Linked DNA regions of Homo sapiens: all the other regions are linked to region 3. The links are contacts of gene promoters, found by promoter capture Hi-C in human tissues and cell types (Jung and others, 2019). All regions are on one chromosome and are shown on one strand. Each heading gives the region's core, a stretch centred on a gene start or on the middle of the fragment in contact. The rest is flanking DNA. Distances are from core to core; before and after follow the strand shown. Region 1 overlaps WASF1 (WASP family member 1). Region 2 overlaps CDC40 (cell division cycle 40). Region 3 holds the start of SLC22A16 (solute carrier family 22 member 16).

Evidence for each region. The method cuts DNA at HindIII sites, captures the fragments that hold promoters and counts their contacts. A contact is called where the count stands out against the background at its distance.
Region 1: a contact is called between a fragment that was not itself captured here and the fragment with the promoter of SLC22A16 in region 3, in 2 of the 25 tissues and cell types used here (neural progenitor cells and thymus).
Region 2: a fragment that was not itself captured here is called in contact with the fragment with the promoter of SLC22A16 in region 3 in 2 of the 25 tissues and cell types used here (aorta and small bowel).

The regions. Positions count from the first base shown.
Region 1 is chr6:110,172,144-110,175,338 of GRCh38, reverse strand. The region is part of intron 2 of WASF1 (WASP family member 1); the gene reads left to right. Among named protein-coding and RNA genes, the nearest start is that of WASF1, 5.9 kb to the left of the region's middle. The HindIII fragment of the contact is 5,240 bases long and covers 1-3,195 here.
Region 2 is chr6:110,209,068-110,212,105 of GRCh38, reverse strand. CDC40 (cell division cycle 40) reads right to left here. Exons shown (of 15, transcript NM_015891.3): 5 at 2,883-3,022; 6 at 1,303-1,399. Among named protein-coding and RNA genes, the nearest start is that of CDC40, 30 kb to the right of the region's middle. The HindIII fragment of the contact is 3,610 bases long and covers 1-3,038 here.
Region 3 is chr6:110,475,073-110,478,187 of GRCh38, reverse strand. It overlaps SLC22A16 (solute carrier family 22 member 16), which reads left to right and starts at 1,575. Exons shown (of 8, transcript NM_033125.4): 1 at 1,575-1,666. The coding sequence starts at 1,614. It overlaps LOC105377938 (a long non-coding RNA gene), which reads right to left and starts at 2,671. Exons shown (of 2, transcript XR_942860.3): 1 at 2,526-2,671. The HindIII fragment of the contact is 19,647 bases long and covers 1-3,115 here.

The DNA of each region.
Region 1 (3,195 bases), core at 32-2,531, 300 kb after region 3:
AAATAAACTCCCAGCACTGTCAAGAAACAGGATTTTTCTTTTGGATTGTTTCCTTTGTTTCCTTATTTTGAGCTATTGGTAAAGTCAGGGTAGATTTTATTCATACTTTGAAGAAAGATCATATCCAGTCAGTCTCCATAGAATTTTTTTAAGGAAAAAATTTTGGAATGAGGTCATGAAGTGGGAGTATGAAGATATAAAGATGGATTATTGCCCCATAAAATACGGGGCATCTTGTATTTGTAGCAGCCTTACCTGGGGTGCTATGGAGCTTTGGTATGGATGTGATGGAGCTGAAGGCAGATTGAGAAAGTGAATCTGTGAACTCCTTGAGGACAGTTTTGTTGTAAGCGTTTGGTTGTTTTGTTTTGCTTTGCTTCATTTTTGTGTTCCCAGTGCCTGTTTTTGGTTTAAGCTAAATGGATTTTGAGTGTATGCAATTACTACAGAATAAAAGAGAAGTCATTCTGTTCCATGTGGAAAGATCAGGGTGCTGTGAGGGAAGAGGTCATGAAACAGCTATTTTTGTCATATGCATTGGAGTATTTAATAATTATTTGGAGATCAGTGATATTCAAAAATAATGTGTAACATGGTCCAAAAGGAAAAGAAGTGACATTGCTTGCTTGCTAGATGTACAAGATTCTGTATAGATGCTGTCACATTTATTATTTATCTTGTTTAATTGCTATCATAGCCCTATAAGGATTTAATTGAAGAAAAAGGTTAACTGAATTGAACAAGTTGTTTGTTCTGCCTAGCGGAAGCCCAGATTGTTTCAGAACTGCTTTATCTCCCCTTTTACTGATAAGTTTCTGTTGGAGCAGTCATTTTAATAACTTGATAATAACAATTCTGCCTGCCTGCTACTGTCCCCTCATTTGTAATTGGTTCATTTAGTGGGTCCCCCTTGTTAAACCAGTGATTCATAGTTCATAATCAGCACATAATTATTGAGGGCCAAGTAGGTGCTAAAAAGGACAGGTCTCTATTCTCTTGGAGTTAACAGTATAGTAAAAAACAGGTGTTGAACAAATACATTTGTACTTAGAAATTTTGGTGAATGCTGTAAAGGAAAAGAAGAGGGAACTGGATTTACACTGGGAGTCAGGGGAGGCTTCTTAGAGGCAAGATTAGTGGAAGTTAGCTAGGTGGAAAAGGAAGAGAATTCAAAGAACAGGTGAAACAGTTAAAGCTTAGTGTAAGAGGGATTGTGACTTGATATGAGGTTGCAGAGGTAAACAGAAGCCAGACTATGCAGAGGGCCTACGTGAGGTTTGGTTTAACGAGGTTAAGGATTTTAAGTCTATTGGGGAAGGCCATGAAGAGTTTTAATCGGGTTAATTACTGGATCAGATCTGTCTTTTGTAAAGATCACTTTGGCTTGGAAGGGGCCAGAGATACCAATCACAATTCTGTTCATTTCTGTGGTTTATTGGCCTGGTTTTAGACACTTTTTTACTAAGCCAAGTCACTCAGAACTTTTCCTGGGTCCTCCATGCCCAGAGGTTGAATAATTTGTTTTCTCTTCAGTTGCTGAAGCTGTGAGATACAAAACTCTGGAACTGTTAATGGCCTTGTTTCTTGCCCTGTGGGCTAGATAAGCCAGGGCTTCTAGAACAAAGAGTGCAAAGAAGCAGATGCACAGAGTCCTGACTGTATTTGAGTTCCTTTGTCCATGGTCCTGAGATTGGGTTCCAGAGACATCCTAGTTACCTTTGTCATAAGTCCTCCTTTTTGCGTAAACTGTTAGAATTGTATTTGTGGTACTTGTCAACCAGCAAACTGAGTCCTCTCATAGATCAAGTAATTTGCTCAAGGTCACATGGCTAATAGAAATGGAGGTGGAATTTGAGCACAGATATGTGTGATTTCAAAGTCCCATTTTTTTCCTACTCCCTTATGCTGCAAAGGTACCATTTCTTAAACTAAAGGTCCTAAAGAAATTCTAAGTAGGTGGGTTTTGGGTGTGATGACATCTGTTGGATGATGATGACAGCAAAGTTTTTTTGTTTTTTTGTTTTTTTAATTTGGTGTGCTTGATAGTAGTTAGTCCAGCATGTAGCCATTCTTTATTCCTAACCTAGCCAGGTCTACTCCAATAAAGTTACATTGACTAACTTATTTGAAAAGAAGAAAAGCTTATGTGTCAGGGCATGGAATAACTTGTTTGATTCCTTTACCAAAAAAGTCAAGTGTGTTATGTTTTCACCTTATGCTACAAAAGTAAGTTTGTTTTCTAGTTGTTTTAATAGGGACATCTTGCTAAATTTGTTAAATTTGCTAAATTTTTATAACATGCATGTGCTACAGGTTATGCCAGAGAATTGTGAAAGGGTTAAACGAAAAGGGAGGAACAGTGAAGCATTTTATATTTTAGTCGAGGATGAAGACTAGCACTCACTTCTTAAAATTATTTTTATAGATTTAGAGGGTACACGTACAGTTTAGTTACATGGATATATTGCATAGTGGCAAAGCCTGGCTTTTTAGTATAGTGTACATTGTACCCATTAAGTAATTTCTCACCCCTCACCCACCATCTATCCTTCCACTCTTCAGAGTCTCCATTATCTATTATTCCACTCTTTATGTCCATGTATACAAATTATTTAGCTCCCACTTATAAATGAGAAAATATGGTATTTGACTTTCTGTTTCTGAGTTAGTTCACTTAGGATAATGGCCTCTGGTTCCATCCATGTTGCTGCAAAAGAGATTATTTCATTCTTTTTAATGGCTGAGTAGTATTTCATTGTTTGCATTTAAATTTTCTTTAATTATCCATTGATGGACACTTAGGTTGATTCCATATCTTTGCTATTTTGAATAGTGGCACTGATTTTTTTTTAAACCAAAATAAAAGCCCTGTGTGGTACATCATAATACACAACTACAAATTTATCAATTTTGTTATTTTCAAGGAATCTTCATTTAGTTTCATTGTTTTTTTCTCTTGATTTCCTGTTTTCAATTTCATAGATTTCTGCCTTAATTATTCCATGGTGTATATGTGCCACATTTGCTTAATCCAGTCTGTCATTGATGGACATTTGGGTTGGTTCCAAGTCTTTGCTATTGTGAATGGTGTCGCAATAAACATACGTGTGCATTTGTCTTTATAGTAGCATGATTTGTAATCCTTTGGGTATATACCCAGTAATGGGATTGCTGAGTCAAATGGTAATTCTAGTT
Region 2 (3,038 bases), core at 470-2,969, 270 kb after region 3:
TAAACAAATACAACCCATAGTCATGAAACCTAACATTCTTAAAATAACATTTTATTCACAGGTATATCATTCCATATTAAGGTTTAGGTAATAACACTCCAATGATGTCAAGATCATGAGTCAGCTAAGATTTAAGTGCTTAAAATAACTGCTATCATTTACAACTAGAGGTAGTATTTCGAAATTCCTAAATATCCAGAGATTATAGACCTTTAGATAATATCTATACTTCTTTTCATCACTTACACATCTTAGTGATCTATAAAGACTTCACTGTGGCATAATTATAGCAAGGGAAGATAATACTTGGGCCTTGTTAGTCACTGGTAAAGAAGCAGAAATAAAACAGGTTAAGAAGGAAGTTAAAACAAAACAAAATATATCAACTATCCTTTTCCCCTGCTTTCCTCTCTTATGCCCTTCCAGTTCCTTTTCATTTATCTTTTCCCACTTTCATCACAAATTTTACAATAAAGTCACCTGTGAGAATTAAATGACATAGTATATATACAGCAATTAGCAGCATGCCTGGCACAGAGTAAGTACTCAATAAATGTTATTTTTATATTATTGTTATTATAGTTTTAAGTACCATAGTACTAAATAGACTCCTTGGAGATAAAACTGAAGCTTGAAGAACCAAATATGGCTTCATCAAACCTAAATATCTGATGTAATATAACATTAGAATAAGCAACACTGTAAATGCTAAGCTATTCTTTACAGTTTTAGATAATCACTATGTATTTTCCTAAATATAACTAATTATTAACAGGTACATTCTAGAATACTTACGATTTGTTTTGGTGAATATGCATTTCCTTCTACAAGTCAAAATAAGTATGAGAGCCTTAAGCTCCATCTTTTCACACGAAAATCCAAGTTTATTCTGAATATAGCTGAATAACGATTATGAACTGTGAGGATACCTGAGTATTTGGCTTCATTAAAAACATTTAAAATGACTGGGGCACTATTAATACACCAAAAGAGTCAACTTTATCTTACGAAAGAATAGATTGTGGACTATTCAAGTTTCTTTTTATCTACCATTTAATAAAATTCATTCACACTTGGAAAAAAATTATCTGTGGCTATCATTAATCATGCTATTTTTTCTCCTTTATCAGTATACAGAAGTCTGCTGTAATTTCCTTGGGATACAAATTGTCCAACACAATTATACTTAACATAATGATTTTATTACAGCTGATAGTAAGGGTAATTGATATTGTATGAACAGCGAACAGAGTAAATATGAAGGTTTTTCATAAAAATGAAGATGTACAAAAAATATGTTACCATGTAAGATTGTCTTCTCCTCCCCAGGTTTCTCTTCTTCCTGTTTTCCTTTTTTCTGCCTCTTTGCTGTGATTTCATCCAATTCTTTTTGCTCTTCCTAAGAAAATTAAGGAGTGAAATTTAAAATGAATGTTCTAGAACCTCATTATACCTAAAGTTGGTTATAAATTCTTTATAATGACTTCTACATATCTGGTCCGAGTATGTTCCCAGGATAACAAGCTCAACACTTTTTTTTTTTTTTTTTTTTTCTGAGATGAGTCTCGCACTGTCGCCCAGGCTGGAGTGCAGTGGCGCGAATCTCTGCTCACTGCAACCTCCCTCTTCCTAGTTCAAGCAATTCTCCTGCCTCAGCCTCCCGAGTAGCTGGGACTACTCGGTGCACACTACCACGCCTGGCTAATTTTTTCTGTTTTAGTAGAGACAGGGTTTTACTGTGTTGCCCAGGCTGGTCTCGAACTCCTGAGCTCTGGCAATGCGCCCGCCTCGGCCTCCCAAAGTGCTGGGCTTACAGGCCCGGCCAAGCTCAAGTCTTCTATAAGCAGAGACTGATTACCTCTTCCACAAATTATGAAATGGTACTAAATACATAATGGATACTAGATAATACTTTTCAACTATATAAAATCAGTTTTCAAAACTTATCCTTCTGTGACACCTAGAAATAAATTTTAACATGTTATACTAGTTATACAAGTAAAAAGACAAGGCAATCAGAAAATCTAGTTTCAGAATGGAAACTGAATTTTAGCACATAATGTTGTTTTTCAGTTAATTGTTTTTACATACTCCTAAGGATATAAGTGATAGCTATACATTTGTGACACAATTTTTTTGGGAGGAGCTGGGGACAGAAGATGGGGTAGTAGTAAATCTCTATCTATAATAACAAGTCAACAGATAAAATCTAAAATAAAAAATAGTAGAATAAGTTTATTCATCTTAGATATCACCTGTTTATTTCTATTACTATAAACATGGATTTACTGGATGTAAGTAACAGCTAGAATATAAGCTTCATGAGGTCATGATTTTCTTGATCTTGTCCACTGCTGTATGCCTGGGACCTAGAACACTCTCTGGCTCATGGAGACAGTGAGATTAGGAGGTGAGGAAGGGAACGGCAGAGCATTTACTTTACAAACTTTATAGTAGTTTTTAAGATATATATAGAGATAAAATTTGTTGAAAATTTTAAATAAATTCATAAATCAATAAAATTTATAATCAATTCTAGTGTCACAGAAGGCTGATTTTGTAGTTACTATCTGAATGTCTAGTATCAGAAGAGTAGCTACCATGGCAGCTTAATAGCAATATCAAGGAAATCTTTATGAAAATTGTTCAATATTGTATTTTAATAAAAAAGCATGAGAGAAAACAAATCAGCAGAAAAGGTAAATAAAAATATCCCAAAGAAAAACAAATAAATTTTATTGTATATTTTCAATCAACTAAAGGCAGAAAAATTTTGATGAGTCATTTGGTTCTCTAAAGAAATCTCAAGTTTATTAATGTAGATATCCTTCATAGAGATACAGCGTATACCTGAATTGACAATTAAAAACATCAAAGCTTACTTCTGAAGGTTTGGCTACATCTTTTTCATCCACATATTTTGCCCATGGTCCCAAAAAACCATCAATATTGGATGCATCATTTTCTTTAAACTTTTTCCTCTTTTCTGTTTTCTTCTGACCAGTTTCAAATACAGTTAAACCTACGTTAACAAAAAA
Region 3 (3,115 bases), core at 326-2,825:
GCATCCCTGTTCTCTAGGAACTCAAGGTTTAGTGGCCTTATAGAGTGGAATAGCACGCCAACAGTGGGGCCAGTGACTGCCAGGCTGACTAGAGAAGGCAACTCTCACTGTGGATATAGTCGGAAACTGGCTTTTCTGCTTCAGCGCTGTGGACCAGCAATTGACCTTTCTTCCCTAAAGTTCATTCACTTGATACCTTCCAGAAGGAAGGTCACCCCCTGCCTGGGTTGGCTATGGGCCAAACCCCTGCCCACTCCAAAGTGTGGCTTGGAATGCCATGGTCTGCTTATTAAAAATCAGATTTCGGGAGGCCAAGGCGGTCGGATCACGACGTCAGGAAATCGAAATCATCCTGGCTAACACGGTGAAACCCCGTCTCTACTAAAAATACAAAATATTAGCCGGACGTGGTGGCGGGCACCTCCCCGCTACTTGGGAGGCTGAGGCAGGAGAATGGTTTGAACCCGGGAGGTGGAGCTTGCAGTGAGCCGAGATTGCACCACTGCACTCCAGCCTGGGCGACAGAGCGAGACTCCGTCTCAAAAAAAAAAAAAAAAAAAAAAAAAAAAAAAAAAAAAAAAATCAGATTCCTGTTCCCCAGGCATCCTGAATCATCAGGGATGGAGTCTCAAAATAAATGTACATTTATTTATTTTTTATTTTTGTATAGACGAGGTGTCGCTATACGTTGCCCAGGCTGGTCTCAAACTCCTTGGCTCCAGCAATCCTCCTGCCTCGGCCTCCCAAAGCACTGGGATTATAGGCCTGAGCCACCACGCCGGCCTAATTGTACTTTTATTTTTTTGAGACGGAGTTTCACTCTTGTTCCTCAGGCTGGAGTGCAATGGCACGATCTTGGCTCACCGCAACCTCCGTCTCCAGGGTTCAAGCGATTCTTCTGCCTCAGCCTCCCGAGTAGCTGGGATTACAGGCATGTGCCACCACGCCCGGCTAATTTTGTATTTTTAGTGGAGACGGGGTTTCTCCATGTTGGTCAGGCTAGTCTTGAACTCCCGACCTCAGGTGATCCGCCCGCCTCGGCCTCCCAAAGTGCTGGGATTACAGGCGTGAGCAAGTGCGCCCGGCCTTAAATGTACCTTTTAAACCAAGTTCTGCAGTAGATTCTTAGGCATTAAAGTTTGAGAGCCATGTTTCTGAGGGGCGTCATGCTGAAGGCTATATATTCTTGCGGCCCCCGGACCGAGCCTAGCCCTTGCATTCCCACCCTGGGCTCTCTCTCAGCGACAACTTTTCCCAGGCGTCGGGGCTTCCCTCGAGCGTGGCGACCCCGCAGACATGGTGCCAAGAGCCAGGGTGGGCGGCGGGGCGGGTGGGAGAGCGGCGGCGCTGGGGGCGAGGGCACCATGCGACCGCGGGCGCCGGGACCACAGCGCGCCGGGAAGGAGGCCGAGGCGGCAGGAAAAAAGCCGAAGATACTTGGGGGGACCGAGGGGCCAAGCGACGGAGGGAGGAACAGAATACAGCCTCGCGCTGGTCCCGAGCACTGGGACGCGCGGGGAGAGCAGGAGGCCGGGCGGGGAGGTTCGGGGCGGGGCGCGCTACCCGCAGTCCCCGGAGCTCGGCTAACTCGGCGCCCAGTGCACGGCCGCACCATGGGGTCCCGCCACTTCGAGGGGATTTATGACCACGTGGGGCACTTCGGCAGGTATGGGGGAGGGGCCCCGCGGCGCCACGCGGGAGGCGGCGCCGAGGGGTCTGTTTCTTTCCGTTGCGGCGGGGTTCTCGCGCGGCGCTCGCGATCCGAAAACATCTCCACTTCCTCCTCACCCCGCGCAGTCGGGACACGGGCGTCCAGACGCCGGCCCCTAGCTGGGCTTCTCCTCTAGGCCTCTGGCAGCGGGACCTGGCATGGTGAGCAGAGGCGCTGGGCTCGCTCGGAGTGCGCCTGTTGCCGGGCAGGAGGGACCTGGTGCGTGCTCTCCGCGGCAGCAGATGCTGGAGGCATCTGGCTGGAGATCTGGCTCGAGGGGCCAGATCTCACTCGTAGGGGGTGCCTGTGCCTGGCCGCCCGTTTCTCTAATCCGCCGCCACTTCCCTAGACGGCTGCTGCCCAGTTCTGCCCTGCGCCTCCGTAGGGCCTCCCTCTGTGCCTGGCAGGTGTTCCCCAGGGACAACCGTTAGTCAGAGTTGGTTGCCGTTTATTAAAACCTAATACGTGCCAGGTACACTGTACCTGGCGCTTACACATAGTTCTTCATTTGATGTTCACCGGGACCCTGCAAAGGAGGTGTTCAAATCCTTATTTTAGTGATTGGGAAACAAGCTGGCGGGGTCAAGGACTCATAGCCAACGCATGGTGGAACCACGTTTAACCTCCGTACACCCTCTTTTCATTTGTCAAATTGATTTAAAAAATTTAAATTATTCATTCGTTCGTTCACTCATGGACAGAGCTCCTCTATCTGACTCAGAGTGTTTTGAGAGGGGAGGTAGCCGGGTGAGGGGCCATGCAGCGTTATGGCCGGAGATTTGGAGCTGCGTCTCGATCCTGGCCTGCTACTTACCTCTGATATGATTCTGGAGATACTTTGTGTGTCAGTTTCCTATCCAGAAAACGGGAATCAGGCTTAGCAAAGAGATGATGTGGTGCTGTTCTTCAAGGTGGAAGGTTGCATGCGTTTTGGTTTTGATTCCCAGTGTCTGCAAAAAGGAGCTGTTAGGACAGAGGAAACGGGCAGGAAGCCCCAGCTGTTCCCTTCTTCCTCTGCTTGCATCATTGAACGCTGCCTTGTGCCTGGCTCGGTCATAAGCCGTTGGTACATGTTACTTCCTTTAATCTTCACTACAGCCTTATAAGGTTGGTAGTATCACCCTCTTTTCACAGATGAGAAAACCAAGGTTTCTGCCTAAGCACAAATCTAATACTAGCAGGGCAGAATTGGATGCCATTGGATGCCCATCACCTCCACAGCCCACACTCTCAACCATGATGCACTCCTGAGCACGGTTAGGTGACGGCTCCTCAGCTGGGCCAAGCTCTTTATGTATGATCTCATTTCATCCTTCTGGAAGCAGAATAGCACAGAGGTTAAAAGATCAGTTTTAAGGCTGGATGTCTAAGTTCCCACTCTGGCGCTACCACACATTAACTATA